Linked DNA regions of Homo sapiens: region 2 is linked to region 1. The links are contacts of gene promoters, found by promoter capture Hi-C in blood cells and fetal thymus (Javierre and others, 2016). All regions are on one chromosome and are shown on one strand. Each heading gives the region's core, a stretch centred on a gene start or on the middle of the fragment in contact. The rest is flanking DNA. Distances are from core to core; before and after follow the strand shown.

Region 1 (7,652 bases), core at 3,226-5,725:
AGACAGCCCCGGCTAAGGGGAAAGTTCATTTGCATAATAAGATTAGGGTGGGGCAGCTAGCCTTCCCCAGCTATGTAACTGTCATACCTCATGGAACCAATCTGTGAGCCCCATGTAAATCAGACACCACCTCCGCAAGCCTAACTGTAAAATTCTGGTGCATCCACCACCGGCTGGTCTTTTCCTCTGAGAAGTGCCCCCCCCCGTCTCTAGAGCTGTTTTTCTTTCTCCCTTTTTGCCTATTTTGTGTGTCCGTGTCCTAAACTTACCTGGTATAAGACGACGAACCCTGGATATTTATCCCAGACAACGTAGCTGCTTTAGTAATAATAATAAAGATATGCAGAAAAGGCAAAAAGGAGTGGAGATTGCATGAAATGCCACACGCACCAATCTGGGATAGTCATGGAGTTGGAAGTGAGAGGTGAGGCCAGCTGGACTCCCTGGGTCGAGTGGGGACTTCCAGAAATTTTCTGTCTAGCTAGAGGATTGTAAAAGCACCAATCAGCACTCTGTGTCTAGCTAAAGGATTGTAAATGCACCAATCAGCACTCTGTAAAAAATGCACAGTCAGTGCTCTGTGTCTAGTTAAAAGATGTAAATGGCCCAATCAGCACTCTGTAAAATGGACCAATCAGCAGGATGTGGGCGGGGACAAATAAGGGAATAAAAGCTGGCCTCTGCAGCCAGCAGTGGCAACCTGCTTAGGTACCTTTCTAGGTTGTGGAAGCTTTGTTGTTTCGCTCTTCACAGTAAATCTTGCTGCTGCTCACTCTTTCGGTCCACCACCTTCAAGAGCTGTAACACTCACCGTGAGGGTTTGCAGCTTCATTCTTGAAGTCAGCGAGACGGTGAAGCCACTAAAGGAACAAACTCTGGACACAGAAGGACAGGAGGGAAGATGGTTATGTTGGATATTCAAAAAGTCTAATGGAAATCTCACATCTACTTACGGACAGTGAAGCCACAAAAGACAAGAATGGCCACTTTCTTTGTTTTTAGCTGAAACTACATTAACTCCTTGTGGTAAACGAGAAGACGTTGGAGTTAAATAGACCCATACTAAGGCAGGGTATGTGCCACTGGGTAAGGAGAGTAACGTTCCCAACAGAAACTAACAGTGCCGGCCTTGCCGGGCAGTTAGGAGAATTAGATGAAATAACGTGTGGAAGGGACTTACCCTGGGTCAGGCGCACAGTAGGTACTTCGTTCATGACACCCACTAATTCCGATACCCTTCCCTAGCCACCCCGGACCTCGGCTTCTTCAAAACGTAAAAATCATACCACCTGCTTTACTCATTCGGCAAATATTTACTGAGCCAAGTACTGTGAATACAAAAATGTATTCACCAGACAAAGTTCCTGGCCTCTCAGAGCCTGCAGTTTGAGACCGTTCATTATTCATCCTTTCAACAGGTATTTTTACTGAACATTTACTATGTAACGGGCTGCGTAAGGGGCATCAGAAATGCAATGTTTAGTAAGACAGATTTAATTCCCCACTACCCACAGAATTAATAGCCTAGAGAAGCTGTAGTAAAGTAATCTAGTGAAATGCCTAGTGTATAGCCGGCCTCCGTATGTAAGTTATCTGGGTGCCAGTCAGAGCTCTGTATGTGGAACTTTGGTAAAGTTAATTCACAAAATGTGGAACATTGATGATTTCTTAACACATGAAATTTGTTTGGCACATGGGGGCTTTTAAAGTATAAGGAAAGTCCAAAGAATATGAAATATTTAGGTATATACCTAACAAAACATGTACAAAAGCTATATGCCAAAAATTACAAAGTGCTGGTTAAAAAACAAATGAAACGGAAGACCTAAATAAATGAAGAAGCATACTGTGTTCCTGGGATAGAAGACACCACATAGTAAATATGATAATTCTCCCCAAAGTGATTCATAGGTGTGATGCAATTCCTATCACAATCCCAGCTGGCAAAGTATTTTGTTATGAAGTTTATATGGAAAGGCATAAGCCCTGTGAGAGCTGAAACAATCTTGACAAAGAAAAACAAAGTGGGAAAAATCACTCTACTTGCTATTAAGGCTCACCGTAAAGCTACAGCAGTCAAGACAGTGTGGTATTGATGCAGGGACAGATACATAGATCAATGAAACAGAATACAGAACAAATGGTCCTGGAGCAACTGGACATCCATAAGCAAAAAAATTAACCTTAAACTCCACACTTTATACAAAAATTGATTCCAAATGAATCATGGGCTGAAATGTGAAGCGTAAAGCTATACAACCAAAAAAACAAAAATAGGAGAAAATCTTCGGAACCTAGGGCTAGGTGAAGAGTTCTTAGACTTGCCATGAAAGAGCACAATTCATAAAAGAAAAAGTGATAGACTGGATCAAAACATAAAACATTTTATCTGCAAAAGTCCATGTGATGAAGTTGAAAAGATAAGCCACAGACTGGGAGAAAATAATTTGCAAACCATATATCCTAAGAAGGACTAGTATCTAAAATGAGCAAAGAACTGTCTCAAAACTCAACTGTAGCAAAACCAATCCAATTAGTAAATGGGCAAAAGACAGGAACAAATGTTCCACTGAGGAAGGGGTGCAGATGGCAAATAAGCTAATATGAAAAGACGTTCGGGCAGGGCATGGTGGCTCACACCGGTAATCGCAGCACTTTGGGAGCCCGAGGTGGGAGGATTGCTTGAGCCCAGAAGTTCAAGACCAGCCTGGGAAACATAGCAAGACACTGTCTCCAGCAAAATAATAAAAAATTGCTTAATAAAATTTAAAAAAAAGAAAAGATGTTAAACATCATTAGCTATCAGGGAAATACACATTAAAACCACAATGAGATGTTACTAAACACCTGTCAAAATGGTTAAATTAAAAAATAGTGAAAACAGCCGGGTGCAGTGGCTCACGCCTGTAATCCCAGCACTTTGGGAGGCCGAGGCAAGCGGATCACAAGGTCAGGAGATCAAGACCATCCTGGCTAACACGGTGAAATCCCATCTCTACTAAAAATACAAAAAATTAGCCGGGTGTGGTGGCGGGTGCCTGTAGTCCCAGATACTCGGGAGGCAGAGGCAGGAGGATGGCGTGAACCCGGGAGGCAGAGCTTGCAGTGAGCCGAGATCGTGCCACTGCACTCCAGCTTGGGCGACAGAGTGAGACTCTGTCTCAAAAAAAAAAAGAACAAATAGTGTAAACAGATATTGGTGGGGATGAGGAGAAACCAAATCACTCATACACTGTTAATGAGAATGTACAATGGCACAGCCATTCTGGAAAACAGTTTGACAATTTCTTATAAAACTATCATGCCATGATGCTATGGCCCAGCAACTGCACTCTCAGGCATTTATCCCAGACAAATGAAACTTACGTTTACCCAAAAACATGTACAAGCATGTTCATATCACCTTTACTCGCAAGAGTCAAAAACTGGAGGCAGCTGGGTTTTGAACAGGTTTGGAACGTGTCCTTCATTATGGCATACACATATCACAAAATACTACACAGCAGTCAAAAAGAATGAACTACTGATACATGCAACAAATTGGATGAATTTCCAGGGAATTATACTATGTTTTTTTTTAAAGCCAATCCCCAAAGGTTAAATACTGTTTCATTCCATTTATGTAGCATTTGGAATAAACAAATTTTAGAAAGAGAGAGCAGATGAGTGATTTCCAGGAGTTAAGGACAGTGTGGGTGGGGTCGGGAGGCAGCAGCCATCACGAAGCAGCACAAAGCCCCTTGTAGTTTTGAAACTCTTCTGTGTCTTGACTATTGTCCTAAGTAAGCAAACCTACACAAAATTGTTTAGAATTAAACACACACACACACACACACAAATGAGAACAAGTAACACTGGGGAAGTCTGCGTAAGATTGGTAGAGTGTATCAATGTCCACATCCAGGCTGTGATCTCCTACTGCAGTGAGGCAGGATATTACTGTACCACTGGGGGAAAAATTCATAGAGGGTACACAGGATCTCTCTGTATTGTTTCTTACAACTGCATGTGAATCCACAATTATCTCCATACATTTTTCAATTAAAAATAGCTTTTATTGTTTTTTTTTTTTTTGTAATTTTTTAAAAATAGAGACATGGTCTCACCATGTTGCCCAGGCTAGTCTCAAACTTCTGGACTCAAGCAATCCTCCAGCCTCAGCCTCCCAAAGTGCTAGGGATTACAGGTGTGAGCCACTGCACCCAAACTATTGTTTTTATATTTTAGAATTAGCATTTTTATTAAAAACTTGCAAATATAGAAGAAAATAATCAGAAAAATCATCATCCTGAAACATAATCTTTTGATGCATTTCTTCCTGATCTTTGTTTTCTACACTCATGTGAAAAATAAAAATGAGGGAAGGGACTAAAAATCAGGGTGGTGGAAAGGTGGGAACCTTGCTGTCCCTACCTTCTGTGACATCAGAACTCAATGTTTGCAGGATGCCTGGTGACCACAGGTGGGGGAGGGGAAGGGTGCCCTTCTGTCTGTTGAGTGTGGTCCACCCAGGCAGCCAGATCTGAGGCCATGGCAACCCAGCAAGTGGACAGCAGAAGGCAGGTGGCAGCAGAGCAGGTGGCAGCCCAGCTGCTTGAACGGAGAAGGGGCAGCCACTGTGATGACGAGAAGCAGGTGAGGCCAGGCCAGGTACATGCTGCTTTCCTCCCATCTGGGCTCCTTTTGCCACTCCAGACAGACTAGAAGTCCCTCAAAGCCCGGAATGAATCTTGGACCCAACCGTCCCTGGATCCCACTCTGATGGAGCACAGTTTAGGGGCCTAGGCACTTCTTGCCGGGGCCATCACTGACACTGTCTTATTAAATTCTCAGCACTGCCAGCAGAAGGTATGTTCCAGGAGGACTGGGCTTTTTGTTTAGTTCCCTGCTGAATCCCTAGTGCCTAGCATGGTGCTTGGTGCCAAGTAGATGCTGAATGAACGAATGAACTGATAATACTCCTGAATTGGAGCGCTCCTGGAGGATTCATTCTCAGGGCTGAAATTCAAAACTCATGTGGGATTTCGTCAAAATGGAAAACATTAATGCTTGCTGCACACAGCCTGGTGCATCCACACCCCATCTCTTAGATGCTATCAACCTCGTTCACAGAGGGTAATCTGAGGCCCAGAAAGGCAAAAGGGCCGTACAACTGGGACATATCAGGATTTGAAAACACATCCATCTGATTTTAGAACTCCCTGAAACCAGGTTCATCTGCTATGAGAACCCTGAGCAAGGGTTTATTCTGAGGATAAGAAGAAGCTGTTGACGGGTTTTAAGCAGAGCAATGAATGAATGAGCTCTGCTGTCTCTGTTTTCAAAAGACTTGTTCACTCATTAATTTACTATACATGCACCGAGCGCCTTCTATATGCTGGACCTTGTAGCGTATAACAGGGGCCTTCATGGGCACCCATCATGCTGCGGCTTTTCCTAAAAAGTGTTCCATAGACACCAGACCCCAGGAATGCTCCTTTTAGAAACATTCTTTACAGAATTCTGTGGCTTGGGGAAGGCTGCATACCCGCATCCCCTCCTGAAGACTGACGCTGCTCATTCACGTAAGGAAGGCTCTGAGAAGTCCTGCAACAAAGAAGTCTGCATAGCTTTGTTTACCACAGCATTTCCCACCTTGATTCTACCAGAGTCCCATTGTTTCCTTTTTTTTTTTTTTTTTTTTTTTTTTTTTTTTCTGAGACGGAGCCTCGCTCTGTCACCAGGCTGGAGTACAACAGTGCGATCTTGGCTCACTGCAACCTCCTCCTCCTGGGTTCAAGTGATTCTACTGCCTCAGCCTCCCGAGCAGCTGGGACTACAGGCGCCCGCCACCACACCCAGTTAATTTTTGTATTTTTAGTAGAGACAGGGTTTCGCCATATTGGCCAGGCTGGTCTCGAACTCCTGACCTCATGATCCACCCGCCTCCGCCTCCCAAAGTGCTGGGATTACAGGTGTGAGCCACTTCTTCTTTTTTGAAAGACTTTGCAGTGTATTTCAAAATCCATTTTACAGATGAAGAAACTGAGGCTCAGAGAAATTATTTGGCTCAGGCCCCAAGACGACACAAGGAAAAGGACTCAAACTCAATCCTAGTCCATGTTCCTCCCTTTGCCTCCATGCAGCACAGTATGGAAACCAGCAGCAAGAATGCCGGGGAAGAAATCAACCTGTAAAATACATTGATAGAGGACTGGTTAGACACATAGAAGAGCTTCCAGGCCACGAAAACTCATCAGCCATTTTAAAGATTGTGACAATTAGTGTGTGTCTTCCATGAAAAGATTCCTAAAGAATATTGTTAAGAAAAGAAAAAGGACCCTAATATTACATGTACAGTGTGATGATTTTGCATTGGGTGTACACACAGATCAAACTATGGAACATTTCTAGCACTGAGGGAGGCTCTTTTGGGGCTCCGCCCACCTGGCATCCCACCCTTCATAGCAGTGATTCTGATTTGTGTCATCATAGCTGAGTTTTCTATGTTCTTGAATTTCATGTAAATGGAATCATACCATGTATACCTTTGTGTCTGACTTCTTTCTCTTATCATTGTGTCTGTGAAACTCAACCAGTTGTTGCTATGTAACATTTTTTTTTTAAGTTAATAGTAATGTAGTTGCTAGTATTATAAAGAAAATTATCTGGGGAAGAGGCAAGTTAGACACATCTTTCATCTTCCTTGTTTAGTACTGGGTCTAAATGTCACTTCACATACTTGGGTGTGTAAGAAATTTATTCTTTCTTTAAGGCAAACTAGATCTGACTCAGCCAACATCTAGTGAGTTTGGGGAAAATTCAATGTCAGTCAATATGCACACACACACAAACACACACACACACACACACACACATATTTGAAAAACAAGAAAACTTTAAAAGCCATGGTCAAAATTTCCACATTAGCAGAAAAAGAAGAATTAAACTCAATAGTATAAAGAAATAAATAATAAAGACAAAATCAGAAATTAATGAAATGTAAAGCAGACAAACAATAAAATTAATAACCATTTTTAATTGGTAAAATTAAATTAAGAATTGGAAAACTTCTAAATAGACTCAACAAAAAACATACATAGAAAGAAAACACAAGTTACCAATATCAAGAATGAAAGAGGTCTCTTGTTTCCTCTCTTGACCTCTTTTCTTTATATATATTTTTTAAAAAGAATAAAAGAGGATTATTATCATGACTCTTACAGGCATTAAAAGAATATTAAGGTAATATTAGGAACAATTTGATGCCAATACATTTAACTTAGGTGAAATGGACAAATCTTCCTTGGCAGTACAACTTACAAAATTGACTCAAGAAGAAATAGTCTTAATAACTACAGGCCCAAAAGTTTTCACCAATAAATTTTATCAATCCTTTGAGATGAAAATAATACCAATCTTACACAAATTATTTCATAAAATAGAGGAGGAGGGAGTTCTTACCAACTCATTTTAAGGGGGCAACAAAATCTTGATACCAAAACTTGACAAACGTGTAGAAAAAAAAATTTTTTTTGAGACAGATTCTTGCTCTGTCACCCAGACTGGAGTGCAGTGGCGCAATCTTGGCTCACTGCAACCTCCGCCTCCCAGGCTCAAGCGATGCTCCTGCCTCAGCCTCCCGAGTAGCTGGAATTACAGGCACCGGCCAC
Region 2 (7,652 bases), core at 2,254-4,753, 150 kb before region 1:
AATTAGTTAAGAGTGCATGAGCAGCAAGAAAGGGGAAAGGAAAACCCGTCATTGCCTGTCAGTAACAAACATGGCTACTAGGGCGTTTTCCCAGAAGGAAACTGGAGGGAACTTTCTTATCAGTCCAGTATTGTATATGTGCAATTTTTGAAGATAATACTTTTGAGCTGTTCAAATACTGTTCTTTGGGCTGGTGACTTTTGATACCAGTAGACCCAAGCGAGAGAGCCTTAGCTTTCTGAAGCACTTCCCTCTGCAAAGTAGTCTAATTTGGACAGGCTGTGCTGCTCGCTGGCAAGCACTGGACCCATCATCCCAGTGCCACAGTGTCATGGCTTTTCTTTCTGGGAGTCTAGAAGGATGTTTTCCTAGAAAAATGCAAATAGGACACTATCTTTTCTTTTCCTTTCCTTTCCTTTCCTTTCCTTTCCTTTCCTTTCTTTTCTTTTCTCTTTTCTTTTCTTTTCTTTTCTTTTCTTTTCTTTTCTTTTTTCTTTTATTTTCTTGAGACAGAGTCTCACTCTGTTATCCAGGCTAAAGTGCAATGGCGTGATCTCCACTCACTACAACCTCCGCCTCCCGGGTTCAAGCAATTCTCATGCCTCAGCCTCCCGAGCAACTAGGATTACAGGCATGCGCCACCGCACCTGGCTAATTTTTGTATTTTTGTAGAGACGGGGATTCACCATGTTGACCAGGCTGGTCTCAAACTCCTGACTTCAAGTAATCCACCCACCTTGGCCTCCTAAAGTGCTGGGATTACAGGTGTGAGCCACTGTGCCTGGCTGGACACTATCATTTCACACCATTAGTCATTTAAGACAATCAACAGTACAGGAAGGGCATCAGCTAGTCATCTGGGTGAGGGGTTTCCCTCTCCTGAGGACTCCACCATCCCAGCAGGCTATTTATATTGGGGTGCCACCATCATATAGCAGGTTGGGAGTCCTGAATTTAAACACAAATTTAAATTTAAGAGGCAGATAAATGGAGAAGGAATATGTAGTAGGTTGAATGGTGGCTGTCCCCCCAAAGATATGTCCATGTCCTAACCCCTGGAACCTGCTAATGTGACTGTAATCAGGGAAAGGGTCTTTGCAGTTGTTACTAACTTAAAGATCTGGAGGTGAATTCATCCTGGGTGATCCAGGTAGGCCTTAAATCCAATGACAGGTGTCCTTATAAGAAAAAGGCAGAGGGAGACTCAAGACACACAGAGGAGAAGTGGGAAGAGGGATGGCTTTTGGAAGAACAAATACCAACATGGGTTTTGTTTAATTTGTCAAAGTCTTTAGATAATTTGAAGTGAGGTCATTAGTACCCACATACCAATTTGAAGTGAGGTCGTTGGTACCCAGTGCCTCTGCATTCCATGAGAGAGTCCACTGTGTGGCTTTGGGCGTGATAGCTGCTCTCTCTGAACCCATTTCTTCCACCGTTACATGACGATGCTCATGGTGCCCACCCTCATAGCCGTTGTGAGGATCAAGGAGGTGTGAGGTGTCAGGGGTCATAAATCGGCAGCCCACAGGTGACTTTGGGACACAGGCATTTTTGGTTTGTCTTATATAATTTATTTTTAAATTTGTTATCAACCTTCCACTACCAGGAAACTTTATACCAAAATCCCATATTCCCTTGAAAAGTCAAAAAACCTGCCGATCTAGTGTCACTATGAAATAAATGACTGGAGTTGAGTTGCAGCTGGCCCCAGCATGGGCTCTTCAGTTTGCCACAGTCCTCACCACTCCCTATTGCACAGCATGCTCAGACTCCATTTATTCCACTCACCTGGCTGGCCCCTGGAGGCCTCTGAGTTTGCAACCTTGGTGAGTGAAAGCTTTTTGTAAATTCTTGGTTAATTTCATTTTCATTTCACAAAAAGACAAATCCCAAACTCATATTCTTATTGAGGAGAGTGTCTCCAGTAGGGAGAGGGACTGATGAAAACCTCTGTCAGATGGAATTTTTTTACTTAATAGAGTTTGTTGTAACCAGATCAGCAACATCCTTTCATCGTAGGCTGCTGACTTGTGGAAATCTCTTTGTTACCCAGAACTAGACACAAATGATGGTACTTGTTAAAACCAGGCGTGCTGGTGGAGAGAGACCTCCATTTATGCTTGGTCTTGCCAATATTTTGATGTTCCAGTCCTTCTCTGGTTTAATAGTTAAGTACATGTTCATTTTGGATTTTCATTCAAACCAGTTCAAGAGGTGATTTTAAGAAAAAACAACACTTTTGGTTTGCATTTCGTCACCAAAACTAGCTATGATTTCCTTGGAGTTCAAGGTTCAGAAAATGGGTCCAGTTCATTGAATCAGACTCAAAATATGGCTCTGCCTCCTGCTAGCTGTGTGACTTTGGGCTGTCCCTTAACCTCTCTGAGCCTCAGTTTCTTCATCTCTGCAAAGGCCAGAATAATAGCTGTCACATCACAGGATTCCTGTAAGGATTGGAGATGACATAAGTTAAGCTCATGGAATAGGAGCTGGAGCATGAGACAGTATTTTTCTTATTATGATTGATTACTCCTTTAAGAGACTCCCCTAGTTCTAGTTTGGGAAGTAGAAATCTTAGATTGTGAAGATTTTATTGTTCACACACACCTGTAGTAGAATTCGGCCTTGATTTGCAAACCTTAGAGGTAATAATGATGACCTTGATAATAATTTTGAGGGGTGATATTTACTAGATATTCCCTTGGAACAGATGAAATCCTCCCCCTTCTCTCCTCTTGTCCTCTTTCCCCTTCTCCGTTACAATCTTTGGCACTTGAGGGTTAGTTATGTATCAACACACGATGTCTTGGGAAATCTGGAATAAGAAAATATTCTCAAAGCCTCCTGATTTGCAAACTGAATGATATACTCCCTAATTTTAGGTGCCAGCCTGTGTGGGATCAGATCAAGAGATAATAGATGAGCGAGGGTTGGGGGATAAGGCGACCGTTCTTCACTCTTTGGCTCTGTTCCCCGTCGCAAGAGGTTTAGCATTCCCGGGTCCCTGGCACTGAAGCCAGTAATGCCCTTCCAGTCATTGGAACAAACCAAAATGCCCTCCCATGCGTCTGAATGTCCCCATGGGAGTTTGACAACCACCATTAGCCAAATGAAGGTGGCTGATGAGAATATTCAAGCTTTCCTGGCCTGCAAACTTGGGCCAGAACCTCCATTCATCTCTCTGAACCTCCATTTCCTGGCCTGTCAAGTGGGAGCGTCGTGTTCACCTTGCAGGGCTGTTGGAAGGACTAAGAGGGAGGGTGTATGTAAGGGGCCAGGCGTGATCACTGGCATACAGTAAGTGCTCAATGCATGAGGCTGGCACATATTAAGTGCACAATGCACAGGGCACAGCATGGGGGTGCAGCAGACCTCTTGGCTCCCCTTTTTCCACTGATTGTGTCTCCAAGTAACAGGGCCAAGGGGGGCATTCAAAGCCCTCCGGACTTCATTCTGCCCTAATTGGAAGTCATTGTGGAATGAAGTCCAGTATTTAATTTGGCCTGTGTTTGACAGATCCGATGTGCACAGCGAGCAGAGCTCACACAGGGCCTGTGCGTGATACAGGGGGGATTCTTGGCCTGGGCTCAGGGCGGATTGGTGGAGAAAATGTCGCATTCAATTAAGGCTGATTGGCCCTGACAGTTGTCTGGGTGAAGTTTATAAGGTACATCTAATCTGGATGCATCTGGTCATAAAAATGCAAAACAAGCCATTCCCACCCAAGTTCTAACTCCAGATGTGGGCTGATTCTCAGTGATTGACACCATATTTTTTGCAGCTGTCCTACATTTCAAATCTTTTTCTATTTAAAATATATTCATCATAATTATGGAATGCAATAAACAAACTTCAGCCTGATGACAAGCTTTAAATATAAGAAAGTTTCAGCTTAAAATAAATGCCGTGATTTCTCAGCCCAGGACGGAGACAGCACCAACAAGCATTCTCCAAAGGAGCCTTGACCTTGTCACCATGAACCAGAAACAGTTATTTTCTCTCCAGTATTGACTGATATTTGGAGCGGGGACAGAGGGAGAAAAATAAAAAAGCTATTTATATCAGATAGAAAAATGTGCACAACCATCGGAAAGCCACGCTTGCAACACAAAGAAAAAGAAATAGATTCAACTTAATCATGTTTTGAAGGCCTCTGGTGGTGCAGGTTCTTCCCAGGGCAGGGTAGACTAGAGGTTATGCACATAGACTTTGGGGCCAGGTTGCCTGCTTTCAAATCCCAGCTTCCACACTCCACACACTGGTACCTTGAGCATTGTTTTGTCACTTAACTATTCTGTGCCTCGGCTTCCTCGTCTGTAAAATGGAAGATGATAATACCACTTATTTCATCGTGGAACTGTAAGAGCTAAATGAGTTACTGTAAATAAAGGGTGTATAACAATGCCTGGCACATAAATGCTCAAGATGTGTTAGCTATGATGGTAATCCATATCAGCTGACCCCTTTCCATGGATCCTCCAAGGGGGAGAGTGAGGTTTCCAGAGATTAGATGACTCGCACAAGTTTCATCCAACCCCTGGCAGAGCTGACATCCAAACCCTGATCATTTGACTTCGCTATAAAACATGCCTGCGGGTGCTCAGTCTTGCTCATGTTTGCATTTTTTTTGCCTCAATTTAAAGTTTTTTAAAGAAAGTTTTCCTGGTGGCTGCTCTATCAGTGGCTTTTTATGCATTCAAATAGTGTCCTATGAAATCTTGGACAAAAGAGCATCCTTATGTTTCTTCTGCTGCTCCTGGGGCTCATCTTTTATTTTTAATGCTATTTAAATGAGTCTGTAATTGAGATAGTCAAATAAACAGGCTATTAGGTTAATTATAGAGAGCTCAGCCTACATCCAAGCTGCTGGGTTTCCTATCCTCTTGTGGACCTCAGCCATGACCTAATGATTCTACCATTAACAGCAAGTACAGCTTAGTTCCTCGAGAAAAATGAGAACTACCCAGAGTTCATGTCAACAATCTGCTCCTCTTTAAAATGAAGCCATAAGTCACAAGCCCTCTGAGTTCCCAGAGAAGTGTCTGGAGCTAAATTTGTATCCTGACTGTGATAATTGTTCTCCTATTAGGCTGATGAGAGAATTAGCAGAGCCAAGTCCTCTGGGGCTGTGCCCACAGCTCGGGCCAAGCTGAAAATGACTCTGTGAGTTTTATTTGTGAGATGTGTAAAAGGCTTGTCCATCACTGGGCCCGTGGACATGGGTTCAATATCAAAATAGCATGAGCCGCCTTTCCCAACAGACAGACTCCAGTCCTGGCAGGCCCTCTGAATACAGCAGGAACAAAAAATTCCTGCCGGAAAAGGTGTAGCTGGGTGTTAGTTCTCTCTACAGCCCTGTGGATGGCTCCACTGATATCTGTGGCCCGTGCCTGACCTGCTGCACTCCTGTTTGAGAGAGGTAGTGTGGAAGGGTGGCAAGAGCGTGTCCTTTGGAGACAGACCCAGGCTCAAATGGGTGGACTGGGGTCAGCAGCCCCAGGTATTGGTCTCAGAGATTGGTCTGTGAAAGGGGAGAATGGGAGTAAATAGTCTCTGACTTGCAGGATCGTCATGAAGATTGGAAGAGATTATGTGGGGAGAGGACCAGGCTTGAAGCCAGTGCTCAATAAACAGAGGCTGAGGTTTTGATTCTCTGGGGTCAATGAGGCACTTAACATGGTTGTCTGGGATTGGAAAGATTGTTTCTCCTTCTGTAGCCAGAATGGCAAATAGATTGTATCTCCCAGTTCGATATGAATCAATTGGAGATGCCTGCTTAAAGTGCAGTGAATGATTTGTAATACCTGCCATGGACTAGGGTGGGTGATAAGAGAATGCACCCCATGTGTTTCTATCTCCCTTCTAGAATGTAAGCTCCAAAGGCAGGGACTGGGTCTGAACAACAATCCATTAACTTTGTACAGGCTCCAAAGCATTTTTGCATCAATTATCTCATTACTCTCCCCCAAAATCCTCAGACATGGTATGCTGTGGTCCCACATCCCCTGGAATTGCAAATATTCTGTCCTCCAAAAGGGCCTGGAGTTTAAAAACTATAGCTAATGTAATAGGCAAGGAAAACCTTATTCACCCTAATCTACAGATGAGGAAATTGAGTCTCAGAGGGAGAAATAAACTGCCCAGAATCATACACTCAGTTGACAGAAGAACTAGAACTCAATTTAGATAATTTATTTATTTATCTACTCAACAAACATTCCTTCATTGCCTACTATGATCAAATTCTGGACTCAACACTCATGTTGCCCTTGAAGTTGCCTACAGTCTAGTGGGGGATATTGATGTGTAAACAATGAAATTACAAAACTGTGTGTGAGAGTGCAAACAGTCAGGGAAGAGGGAACATTTCAACTAAGTTTTGAAGGCATGAGATCCAGAAGAGCTCAGTTATGGAACTTGGTCTTTATCCTGAGGGCAAAAGGGAGCCATGGAGGGTTCTAGGCAGTGAGTGACCTAATTACTGTAGTGTTTTGGACAAACCACCAAAGGGCAGTGTGGAGAATGGACAGGAAGGGGAGGACTTGGAACAAGGAGGCCAGAGAGGAGTTTTGTGGTCCAGGTGAGGGGTACTGAGGCCTGAGCAGGTGCAGGAGTACATGGGGTGGGTAGGAGGTCATGGGTAGGACATGAAAACTCCCCAGACCCCAGAAGGTCTCCCTTCTGTGAGCAGGAATCAGAAAGGACTCAGCAGAAGTCTGCCCCAGGCTTGGAGGAGAAGACCAGGCCAGAAAACAAGGCCAGGAAAGGCAGGGCAAAGGGTTTTTTAGCAGGTAAGTAGGCTGTGTCCCTCATCGCCATGGGTAATCTGGAAGCAAACTAATTTGAGTCATTTTGAGAGACTCTTCCTTAACTTACATGCCCACATTATAGTGACTATTAACTGCAGTAAGTTAGGTTATGCTGCAGTAACAGATACTCCCAAATCTCAGTGGCTCTCACAGAAAGCTTGCATTTTCACCATGCAGAGTGTGTTCTGGGTCTAGGCCAGAGAACAGGGCAACTGTTCTCTATGCAACAGCTCCACAATCCCGGTGGAAGGACATTCCACCATCTTCTACATCATCATCTGGAACAGGAAGTCTTCTCAGTCAATGCCAAAGACGAAGAGAGAGAAAGAGGGGGTTCTCAAGCCAGCAATTAAATGCTTTTGAAGTGACATTTGTAACTTCTGCTCACACCCATTGGTCAAAGCAAGTCCCCTGGCCCTGCTGAGCCAAGCAGGCTGGAGATGCAGACTTTCCCGCACCTGGACAGAGAGACAAGCAAGCCATTCGTGAGCACTAGTAATGTCTCTTACAGGGTCTATGGAATGGTTGCTGTTTTTTAAATTCAGAATTGTTTAAAATCCAACTTCTTTCCTTTTCTGACGTTGAATCCTGCAGCAATTATTATCTCCATTTGGCGGATGTGGAAACTGGGGTCAAAGGTCAAATAAATGATGTCTGCAACTGACAAAACAAGATTAGACTTTTAAAAAATTACCTGCAGTGTCACTCTGAAAACCTCTCCTCTCTATAGTCTCCCACTCAGGTGATGATACCCACATCCATAGTAAGGCACGGAAACATGGGTTCTAGCCTCTGCCCTCATGCCAATCAACCGAGGACCCCTGGAAAAGTCACTTTACC

Evidence for each region. Contacts are between HindIII fragments. The CHiCAGO score rates a contact against its expected background, and 5 or more counts as called.
Region 2: a fragment that was not itself captured here is called in contact with the fragment with the promoter of SMIM23 in region 1 in 1 of 17 cell types (endothelial precursors); the score reaches 6.3 in endothelial precursors.

Annotation. Positions count from the first base shown.
Region 1 is chr5:171,781,342-171,788,993 of GRCh38, forward strand. It overlaps SMIM23 (small integral membrane protein 23), which reads left to right and starts at 4,476. Exons shown (of 4, transcript NM_001289970.2): 1 at 4,476-4,635. The coding sequence starts at 4,531. RefSeq lists an enhancer at 1-655. The HindIII fragment of the contact is 8,257 bases long and covers 729-7,652 here.
Region 2 is chr5:171,635,634-171,643,285 of GRCh38, forward strand. No RefSeq gene overlaps it. Among named protein-coding and RNA genes, the nearest start is that of SMIM23, 150 kb to the right of the region's middle. The HindIII fragment of the contact is 731 bases long and covers 3,139-3,869 here.